Regions from separate parts of the Homo sapiens genome. Here region 2 is linked to region 1. Evidence: promoter capture Hi-C in 16 types of primary human blood cells and fetal thymus (Javierre and others, 2016). All regions are on one chromosome and are shown on one strand. The core of a region is centred on a gene start or on the middle of the fragment in contact, and the rest is flanking DNA. Distances in the headings are between cores, read along the strand shown. Region 1 holds the start of SAMD13 (sterile alpha motif domain containing 13). Region 2 overlaps PRKACB (protein kinase cAMP-activated catalytic subunit beta).

Region 1 (5,257 bases), core at 1,065-3,564:
AAACAGATAACTCCCTCTTGGAACTCACTTTCTCCTTGTAATCAAAGTACTTATTGCTTTGCTATAACTCCTAAGTGAGAATATACATTTTTCATATACTCATAAATATCAAAATATTATGTTACATGTGCAATTGAATTTTCCCATTTAAAATAATCAAATATATAACTCTTACATGACACATATAAACACAAGTTTCAAATGTGAGAACAGACTTTAAAATAAACACCATGTATGCACAGAAATGTTTCACATTCATTAAACAGTTCATAAAATTAGGACGGAGGAGTTGTTAAACTATATTCTTACTGAAGCTTTTTCCCTTCCTGCACTATAGCTCTTAGTTTTCAGAGTTAGAGGTGATTGTATTTCAAAAAAAAAATTTGAACTCTATTTTCTGCCCCCATTCTGTGTTGTCTATGGAAGAGTCTCTGCTTGGAGTTTTTGTTTCAATATACAGAATGCAGGGCTGAAATCCTCAACCATCCTTGTTCCAAAGCCTGATACACAAACCTTTCATATATATTTTGATGTCTGAGTCATCTCTGTCTTAGAAATGCAATACAGAAAAAGGTAACTGGGGTAGGGGGGAGAAGGGAGGCTGCTGGCCAGTGTAGACAAACCAAGGCGACCCCCAAACTGTGTATTGTAGTAGATAAGCAAGAAGTACGAAAATAGAAACTAAGTCCCTCTGTTGTTTGCAGAAGCAGAACTCAGAAGCCAGCTTCACTTACTTTTTTACACCGACAGAGCCATTTTCCTTGTTTTCCATGTCAACAGATAGCATGGGAAGGCTGCAGGGTTCCTTTACTTCAGCAACTAATCAATAAGGGAGAAAAGCTTGTGTTTAATTCTTAGAAAGTGAGAGAAGAATATATATTCTGAATCGGAAACATAATGGTCCCTTTTACAGCTTCACACCAGTTCACGTATGTTTGTTTAAATCTCCAGTTCCCTCGGCGATTGGAGAGATGTGATTAAACCTAAAGAACTGGAGGAGACGGATTGGGGTGCTTTCATCTGTACTGGCACTCCCTGCCTTGACAATAAGCATTTGCAAATGAAATTGAATCCTCGTTGAAAACAAGTGCTGTGTGAACTGGCACAGCTTCTTCTGGGTGCCTAGCTCTCACTTAAGACACTGCAACTCATAAATGAGTCAAAGTAGAGAAAAACAATCCCCCTTTTCCTGCCCCCCTCCCATTATGGGCTTTGATTTGTTTTTTCTTATTGTGTTTGGTTTTTTTTTTGTCCACTCCCCCTTGCTCCTAGATTTTTTCATTGCAATGCAGAAGGACACTTAAAGCTTTTGTCAGCAAGTATTCCCCTACCTCACATTCTCAACGAAAGCCTCAAAAACCCGTCTGTGAGATGGCCATGCTGTGGTAAAGCAGGAAGCTCACAAAAAATGCCAGATAGCCCTTAGCACAGAAAGGTGGTGCTGGTGTGTGTGTGTGTGTGTGTGTGTGTGTGTGTGTGTATGTGTAAGAAAGAGTAGGTAACTCATTAGATTTATGAAAAATCATCAAAACATTTAAGGAGATATTGTAGCATCCATCACTCTGTCTTTTTGTTTAGTAGGATGAGGGCTGTGGAAAATTAAAAGCCTTCCACAATTAATATGCAATTAGCAAAATGAAAAAGCTACGAACAAAACTGCTTTAAGAAAAAAAAAAAAAAAAAAGGAAGAAACAGTCCCGAAACGTGTTTGCTCTTATTCAGCTGAAGCCATAAATTAAATACATTTCCACTCAAATCACTTTATACTTCGGCACTCCTTCTCTAGGGATTACTCTGACATGGCAAGTGCATCATTTAGTATATTCGCAAGATTTTATCACTGTTAGAGAAGTAGATGATTAACAAATAACACTGTAAGTGTGGGATAATTTTCACTCCTGAAACACACACATACACACAAACTTCCAGCTGCAAACCACTTAGATCATTGATAGAGAAATCCAACATTTAATATATATATATAGATATTAGCATACATTCACACACCGTTAGAGAGTAGACAGGAAGATAGTGCTGCTGCTCCATGCTAACAGAATATGATTTCACTTCAGTTGGAAACTGTTACACATTCACCATTTTCTAAGCATCTCAGAAAACAAAACAAAACACTCACAATGATACTCTGCAACACCACACTACATTGTCTTATTATTATTACTATTATTTTCTTTTCTGTGGAAGAGTAAAAAGAAAACCTACCTATAAGCAACTAAAAAATATCATTTTTTATAGGCTTATCAAGAACAGCCAAAGAAACCCCAATGTTTTCTTTCACAAAGTAGGCTGGCAAAGGAATTCAATAAGGAGGTACAATTTGACACAGTGAAATAAAACCAGGCTGGCTCTCAGCCAACATGACGTTAGGAATCACACACAAGCTGCACCAACTGCCTTCTGGTTCATGGCTGACTTTTTAAAGCTACAGTGTGCCTGTTCACTTTTGCTAACTACCTTCAGCACAATTAGTGCAAGAAATGAGTAAGGAGTCCAAAACCTGCAGAATTCTCCCTGCACCTGTCTTGTACAAAGAAAAACAAGCTGTCTCAATAGCTTCTTATTTTCTCCCTCCCCTTCATTGTTGCTGCATGATAGGTCTTAGCTGTTGTTCTGAGCATGAATGTCATGTTTCAAACTATTTCCTTTTCTCCCCAGAGGGAAAAATAAGAGTGAGAAGCCAGTGCTTATGGGCTATAACCAGAGAACACTCGGAAGCTGCAGTCCCATGTTACTCTTTTTTTCCTAATAGAGATTCATGGACAAAGTTCCCAGGGCTGGCTTTTAAGTAATCTCTTTGTGAGAATAAGGAAAGCACTGCCCAGCAGCAAATCCTTTTACTTCATTATGCAGGAAGTAACATATTTCGGAAAGGATGCAAAATAGATGACCAGATCTCCTGAAAACGCCCACATTCTTTTATTTTGGCATTTATCCTGCCAAATGAAGCCAGCAAAAATTCAAACTGAAACAAACAAAACCTTATTCTACAAAACGAAAACAATTAGTTCTGGGAGGTTTAATTTTAACTGTTTATCCCAGTTGGACAAAAAGCATAATTCAAGAAATTTAACCAACACTTACAATCTATGAGTACCCGGTACTATATTAGTTACATATGAATAGAAAGACATTATGCCCACCCCAAAATTCATAGTCTCTCCCGCCATCATCCTAAATACCAAATCAGAAAACTGGGAGGTGGAGCAGAGAGGCTGGGCAAGATCTTTTGTTTAAGTTACCCTGGTCATTCTCACAGTTCCCTTGCTTGGCTTAAACCACTTTTCCAGGAGAATAATCTCATCCCATTAATGTTCTGCACATACACAGAAAACATACATGGTTGCCTCTTCATTGAAATAAACATCAATCAACATTTGGACACTTTTAGGTCAAGATGGTCAACAAAACCACTCAAGACAGGGCACAGAACACAGGTTCCCCAGAAAGATCCTGGAAAAAGTTATCACTTGCTGTAATATCCTGTAGAATTCAGGTAGAATCTGAGGAAAAAGCTGCCTGCTTCCCTTTTTAAAAATAATCTTTTAGGACATTAGGAGATTACCTTTGATCTAAATTTGGAACCTGAATTTCAAGGTCAAAAAATTTGTTCTTTACTTATTCCAGGAATTATATTAGAAATTTTTGACTTCCTTGAAGATCAGTGCCAAGAAAGATTTCAAATATTTGCCATTGCTCCCTTGAAAAGGCAAACAATAGTAATCTAGGAACCAATTAAATATTTTTGAGCAGTATTTTTTGAGCATGGGTCAGGCATGTGGATCTTTCACCAGTGCTGATCTCAAAATGATGGACTTTTATGTAGATAAAGAGCTCTTTCACTAACAGATTCCTTAACGCTTTTGGACTTGATCTGAAATTCCTGAACTATTCTCCCAGTAAATCCAAATTGGAAGCGAGTTGGACTGGGAGTTCTGTGTCTTGGGGAGCTGGGGTTGTCCTGACAGTGCTGCTCAGAACAAAAGCATGTTCAGCTCTCCACTCTTGACGGGGAAAAGGCAAAGAAACTGTAGTTACACCCAGCTCTTCCTTAGACACAGCCACAGGAGAAAGGATTCTGTGAAGTTTTTCCAAGCATCTCTTCCTGCATATACAAAGGGACATCCCCTCCCATCTGGCCTGCTGTGATCAAAAGTTTGCCTGTTACACAAGAGTAAAGTTTCAGAAAGTGTTGTAGGAAGTTAATCCCGTTTTATAAAAAGTGAGCCACAAAGACACTCTAAATTATGACAACAGGTTTCACTTACCAGCTAGTTTCTAACTTTGGTAGTAAACTGACACTTGTGAATATAAATAAATAAATAAATAAATATATATATATATATATACACTAGTACTCACACACTCCCTCCAACAAACTGTTTGCCATCAATCCTCTGCTGATAAAAAGTTGTGTGTGTAGTATGTAGCATAAAGTATGTGAGTGTGATGTGTGCACTATGTGGTGTACTTTGTGTGTGGGTGTGGTACGTATGTGGGGGTGTGTGTGTATGTGGTGTGTGGGGGTGAGGGGGAGAGGCAACCAAACAAGACCTTCCGATCCAGCACATTATGGGATATGCTGAAATAACTTTAGAGATCCTGAAATCTCCAAATTATATGCTGAAATAACTTTGGTGTCAGTATTCTGGAGCAGAACTGTCGACCCACTTGGGAATGCGCTCAGATAGGGAGAGGGGAGGCGGTTAGGAAGGGCGGGAAGCTGTTGACTTTGATTGGCTTCTTTTCTAGATCAGCATTCGTCCCCCAGGCAGAAAGGACTCGCCTAGGGAGCCAGCGCGGTCCCAAAGGAGCCGCCGGCCCTGCCTCCCGGGATCCGACCCCCGGTGCAGCCAGCCTGAAGTCGCCCGAGGGCAGGGCCGACCTCACCGAGCCGGGAATGGCGTCTCAGGGGCAAGTGAGAACTGGCCTGAGAAGGGGACGGTAGGGGCAGAAGACGCCAGGCTGCCTCTTGGACCAGCAGCGCCGGCCCAGAGCCACACGACTCTCTGTGGCACTGGCGACAAAGCGGGGAAAGTTTCTGGCTAAGACTTTCACGGAGAGGCAGTTCGCTGGCGTTTAGTGTGGGGGCTCCCCGGGGAAGCCGGTCTTTGGAAAGTGGAGGGTGGAGGTGTGGCGTTCTCGGGGTCCCCGCCGAGTCGTGCCACCACCCCGTCCCGCTCCCCGAGCACTGCCAGCAGCCCCAGGCGAGCCGGGGCTCTCCGTGGGGCAGGGCACGCTT
Region 2 (5,257 bases), core at 1,067-3,566, 140 kb after region 1:
AATAAGAAGAAAAAACTAAGCAGAGAAATCAGTAGTCACATATCATGAGGGATACAGATTCCATAGATTAAGACAAAGGAAGTTTTTAATAAAAAAATAAACAAAACCAACCCTCAGGGAAAAAATAATCAAAACCCAGAGCTACTACCACATGTTATTTTAAAAAACACATTTTTGACAAAAACTTGTGTGATCCACAATGAGGAAAAAAAGCAGTCAATAAAAAATGTCCCTGAATGGGCCCAGGTGTAGAATTTAGCAGACAAAGGCTTTAAAGACTTTAAAATAGCTATTATACATATATGAAAATAATTAAAAGAAAATTGTGTTAAATACCTAAAGGAAAACACGACAGTAATGAACAACATATAGAAACTTTCAATATAGAAAGAAAAACTATTTAAAAATAAAAAGTGCAGATTTGAAAAGTATAATAACCAAAATTTTAAAACTCAGTATAGTAAGCCCAACAGCAGATTTAAAAGAGCAAAAGATCAAATCAGTGAACTGGAAGATAGATCAATGGAAATCATCCAGTCGGAAGAACACAGAAAAAGACAGGAGAAAAGTGGACAGAGCCTGAGAAACTTATGGGATATCAAGGGAACCAACATATATCTCATGGGAATTAGAAAAAAAGGAGAGAGACAAAGGGTGATGAAAAAACATTTGAAGGAATAATGGCTGAAAATGTCCCAATTTGATGGAAAACAGTAACCTATGGATCCAAGAAGCTCAGCCAATGCCAACTAGAATAAAACCCAAAAGATCCACACTGAGACATATCATAGTCAAATTGTTGAAAGGTAAGGAGAAAAGTCATGAAAGCAGCAAGAGAAAAATGATGAATCACGTCCAGGGGAAAAATATGATTAATGACTTCTCATTAGAAATAAGTAGGGCCAGAAGGCAGAGAAATGAAGTGCTAAAAGAAACAAGAAAGCAAACCCATCCACCAACATTTCTCTATCCAGGAAAATTATCCTCCAAAAATAAAGGTGAAATGAAAGATTCCCAGAGAAACAACGGAGGATATTTGTTGTAAGCAGAAATACCTAAGTCCTTAAAGCTGAGAGGAAATAATACTAGACAACAGCTCAAATTGACAGAAAGAAATGAAGAGCACTAAAAATGGTAAATATATAAATAAAAGGCTATATAAATACACATTTTTTCTGTTCTCTCTTAATTTCTTTAAGAGACTTAAAGTTGTATGAGGCAATAATTACAACATTATGTTGCTGGGTTTATAAAATATATAAATATATGTGAAAAAACACAAATTTGGAAAAGAAATGAAGCTATATTGGATCAAAGCAGTTCTATTCCACTAGAATTAAGTCAGTACTATCCTGAAGTAAACTATGATAAGATAAATTATAATCTTGTGTATTATAATCTCTAAAGAAATATTAAGAAAATGCCTTTTAAATTTTATTTTTAAAAATCAAAACCAAATAATTAAAACATACGTAATAGAAAAGAAGGTGGTAGAAAGGGAAAAGAGGAACAACAAAAACTATGAGACAGAAAACAGTAAAATGGAAGCTACAAATCCAACCATATCAATAGTGACATTAACTATGAATGGAAGAAACACAAATCAAAAGGCAGAAATTATCAGATTGGATAAAAATCAAGATCAAACTATATAACATCTATAAGAGACACATTTTAGATTCATAGATATAAATAGGCTAAAGTAAAAACAGGAAAACAAGATTCATCATGCAAACAGTAACCATAAGACAGCTGGAATGCCTATATCAATATTAGACAAAATAGACTTTAAGTCTAGAAAAATTATGAGACAAAAGGGACATTCATAATTATAAAAGGCCAATACATCTGAAAAATGTGACAATTAGAAATGCATATGCATTGAACAGAAGAGCCCCCACAGTACTAAAATAAAAACGGACAGAATTGAAAGGAGAAAAATATTTAATACTAATAGTTGGAAATTTCCATACTTCTCTCTCAATAATTGATGGAAAAACTAGACAGGAAATTGGAAAAGAGACAAACAACTTAAATAACACCATCAAAAAAATCTTGACATTTATAAAATACAGAATTTAACATCAGCAGAATACACATTCTTATCAAGCACACATGGATATTCTACATATTAAGCAAATGCTAGAAAATATAATGTCTCAATTAATTTGAAGGGTTTGCCAAAGCTTTCAAAATATATTCTATAATCACAGCAGAATTAAGTTATAAATAAAAACAGAAAGAAATTTTAGAAATCTCTAAATATTTAGATATTAAATCACAAACAAATTCCAAGGGAAATTAGAAAATATTTTGAGGTAAATGAAAATAAACTACAGCATATCTACATTTATTGGAGGTAGATAAAGCAGGTTTAGAAAAAAAATTCATAGCTTTAACCATTTAGAGTAAAATAGAAAAGTTCCAAATCAGTAACTTAAGCTTTGTATATATTATTATATATTATAGTATTATATTATATATAATATATTCAGTAAAATATATAGAAAAGCAGTAGAGAAAAATGAATTAAACCAAAAGTCTTATGATAAAACTTTCACTAGACTGACCAAATATCAAAACAAAATGAACAAAAAGAAAACAGAAGATATTAATTACAGAAATCAGTAATGAAACTATGATATCACCACTGATGCTAGATAAATTAAAAGGATTATAAAGGAATACTATAAACAACCTTATCCCAATCATATAAGACAACAGATGAAATGGAAAAACTCTTAGGCACAAATTACCAACACTAACTAAAAAAGAAATAGAAAATGTAAATAAACCTGTAACACAAATATTGAATTAGTAATTAAAATTTTTCCCACAAAGAAAAGCTCAAGTCGAGATGGCTTCACTGGTTAATTATATGAAACATTCAAAGATAATACCAACCCTACACAAACTCTTTCAGAATTCAGAAGTGGCAGGAACACTTCCCAACTCATTCTAAGAGGCCTAATACCAAAGTTAGGCAAAGATCAAACGAAAACCACAGACCAATATCCATTGCAAACATTGATGCAAAAACCTTTTATCAAAATGCCAGCAAACTTAATCTAGCAGTATATACAGAGGATCATACACAATGACCATGTGGGATTTATTCCATGAAAGGTAAGGTTGGTTCAACATTGAAAATCAATTAACGAACTATGTTATATTAATAAAGTATAAAACCAAATAATCATCTCAATATATGCAGAAGAAGCACTCCACAAAATCCAACAGCCATGAGAAAACCTCTCAACAACGAGGACTAGAAAGGAACTTCCTCAAACTGATAAAGGACATGTGGGGCAGGGGAAACTCTATACTTATGTCATATTTAATGATGAAAGATGGAACGCTTTCCCCTTAAGATAGGGCATAAGGCATTCACCACTTCTATGCATCTTTGTACTGGGAAATCTAGCCAGTGCAATGAGGCAAGAAAATAGATATTAAAGGATAAAGAAGAAATAAAACTGTCTTTATTTGCAGATGAAATTATTCTATATGTAGAAAATTATAAGGAATCTATAAAGAAACTACTAGAACTAAAAAATGAGTTTAGCAACATCATAGGATGATATAAGATCAATATAAAAATCAATAACATTTGTATATACTAGCAACAAACAATCCAAATGTGAAATTAAGACTTATCCATTCACAATAATATCAACAGAAATAAAACACTTAGAAATCATTTTTACAAGACTGGAACGCTAAAGAAATTAAAGAATATGTAAATAAATGGAGAGACATTTCATGTTCATGGATTCCAAGACTCAAAATTGTTAAAATAACAATTCTCTACAAGTTAATCTATGAACTCAATATATAATCTCTATGAAAATCTAATAAAGCTTTTCTTTAGAAACTGACAAATTGATCCAGAAATTTATATGAAAATGCAAAGGACCCCAAAATAGACAAAACAATTTTGATAAAAGAAGAACAAAGTTGGAGGACTTACACTATGTGATTTCAAAACTTACCTTAAAGTTTTAGTAATCAAGACAGTGTAGTATAGGAATGAGGACAGACATGTAGTTCACTGGGACAGAATTGAGAATTCAGAAGTGAACCCTTTCATTTATGGTCAACTGATTTTTGAGAAAGATGCCAAGATAATTAAATAGAGAAAGGAAATTCTTTTTAACAAGTAGTGCAGTAAAAAATGGATCTACATGTTGAAAAAAGAACTTCAATTCATACTTCACAACATATATAAAAATTAACTCAAAAAATAGACTTTTAGAAGGAAGTACAGATTGAAAATCTTCATTACCTTGCGTTAGATACAAATTTCTTAAGATCTGGTACCAAAAGTACAATCCAAAAAGGAAAAAACGATAAATTGGACTTCACTAAAATTACAAATTTTGCTCTTCAAATACATCATTTTTAAAAATGACAACATAAGACAGACTAGAAGGAAATATTTGATATTTATATTTTTGGAAAAGAACTTAGTTCAGAATATACAAAGAATTATTGAGAATTGATAATAAGAAGAAAAACGACTCAATTTTGAAAGTGGGCAAAAGATTTGAAAATACATTTCTCCAAAGTACATACACAAATGGGTTATAAAAACTTGAAAATATGCTCAACATCATAAAGTTATTAGGAAAATACAAAGTGAAACAACTGTGAACAACGGATTCACACTCACATAATGGCCATAATCAAAATGACTGATAAGACGGGTGCAGTGGCTCATGCCTGTAATCTCAGCACTTGGGAGGCTGAGGCGGGCGGATCACTTGAGGTCAGGAGCTCAAGCCCAGCCTGGCCAACATAGTAAAACCCCATGTCTACTAAAAACACAAAGATTAGCCGGGAGTGATGGCGCATGCCTGTAATGCCAGCTACTCAAGACTGAGACAGGAGAATCACTTGCGCCACTGCACTCCAGCCTGGGTGACAGAGTGAGACTTTGTTTCAGGAGGGGAAAAAAAAAAAAGAAAGAAAGACTGATGATACCAAGCATTGATGAGCATGTGAAAAAACTGGAACCCTCTTACCTTACTGGTGAAAACATAAAATGGTACCACCACTTTGGGAAACAATTTGGCAATTTCTTTAAAACATAAATTTACCATATGACCTAGAAATTCTACTTCTAGATATCTACCCAAGAGAAATAAAAACATATGTCCACACAGACTTCTTTTCAAATATTTATAGCAACATTATCCAAATGGCCAAAAACAAACCAATTCTCATGTGCATCAACTGCAGAATGGATAAACAAAAT

What was found. The method cuts DNA at HindIII sites, captures the fragments that hold promoters and counts their contacts. A CHiCAGO score of 5 or more calls a contact.
Region 2: a contact is called between a fragment that was not itself captured here and the fragment with the promoter of SAMD13 in region 1, in 2 of 17 cell types (erythroblasts and megakaryocytes). The highest score is 6.6, in erythroblasts.

The regions. Positions count from the first base shown.
Region 1 is chr1:84,298,765-84,304,021 of GRCh38, reverse strand. It overlaps SAMD13 (sterile alpha motif domain containing 13), which reads right to left and starts at 2,314. Exons shown (of 4, transcript NM_001134663.2): 1 at 2,221-2,314; 2 at 735-819. The coding sequence starts at 787. The HindIII fragment of the contact is 6,789 bases long and covers 1,309-5,257 here.
Region 2 is chr1:84,157,780-84,163,036 of GRCh38, reverse strand. The region is part of intron 1 of PRKACB (protein kinase cAMP-activated catalytic subunit beta); the gene reads right to left. Among named protein-coding and RNA genes, the nearest start is that of PRKACB, 16 kb to the right of the region's middle. The HindIII fragment of the contact is 256 bases long and covers 2,189-2,444 here.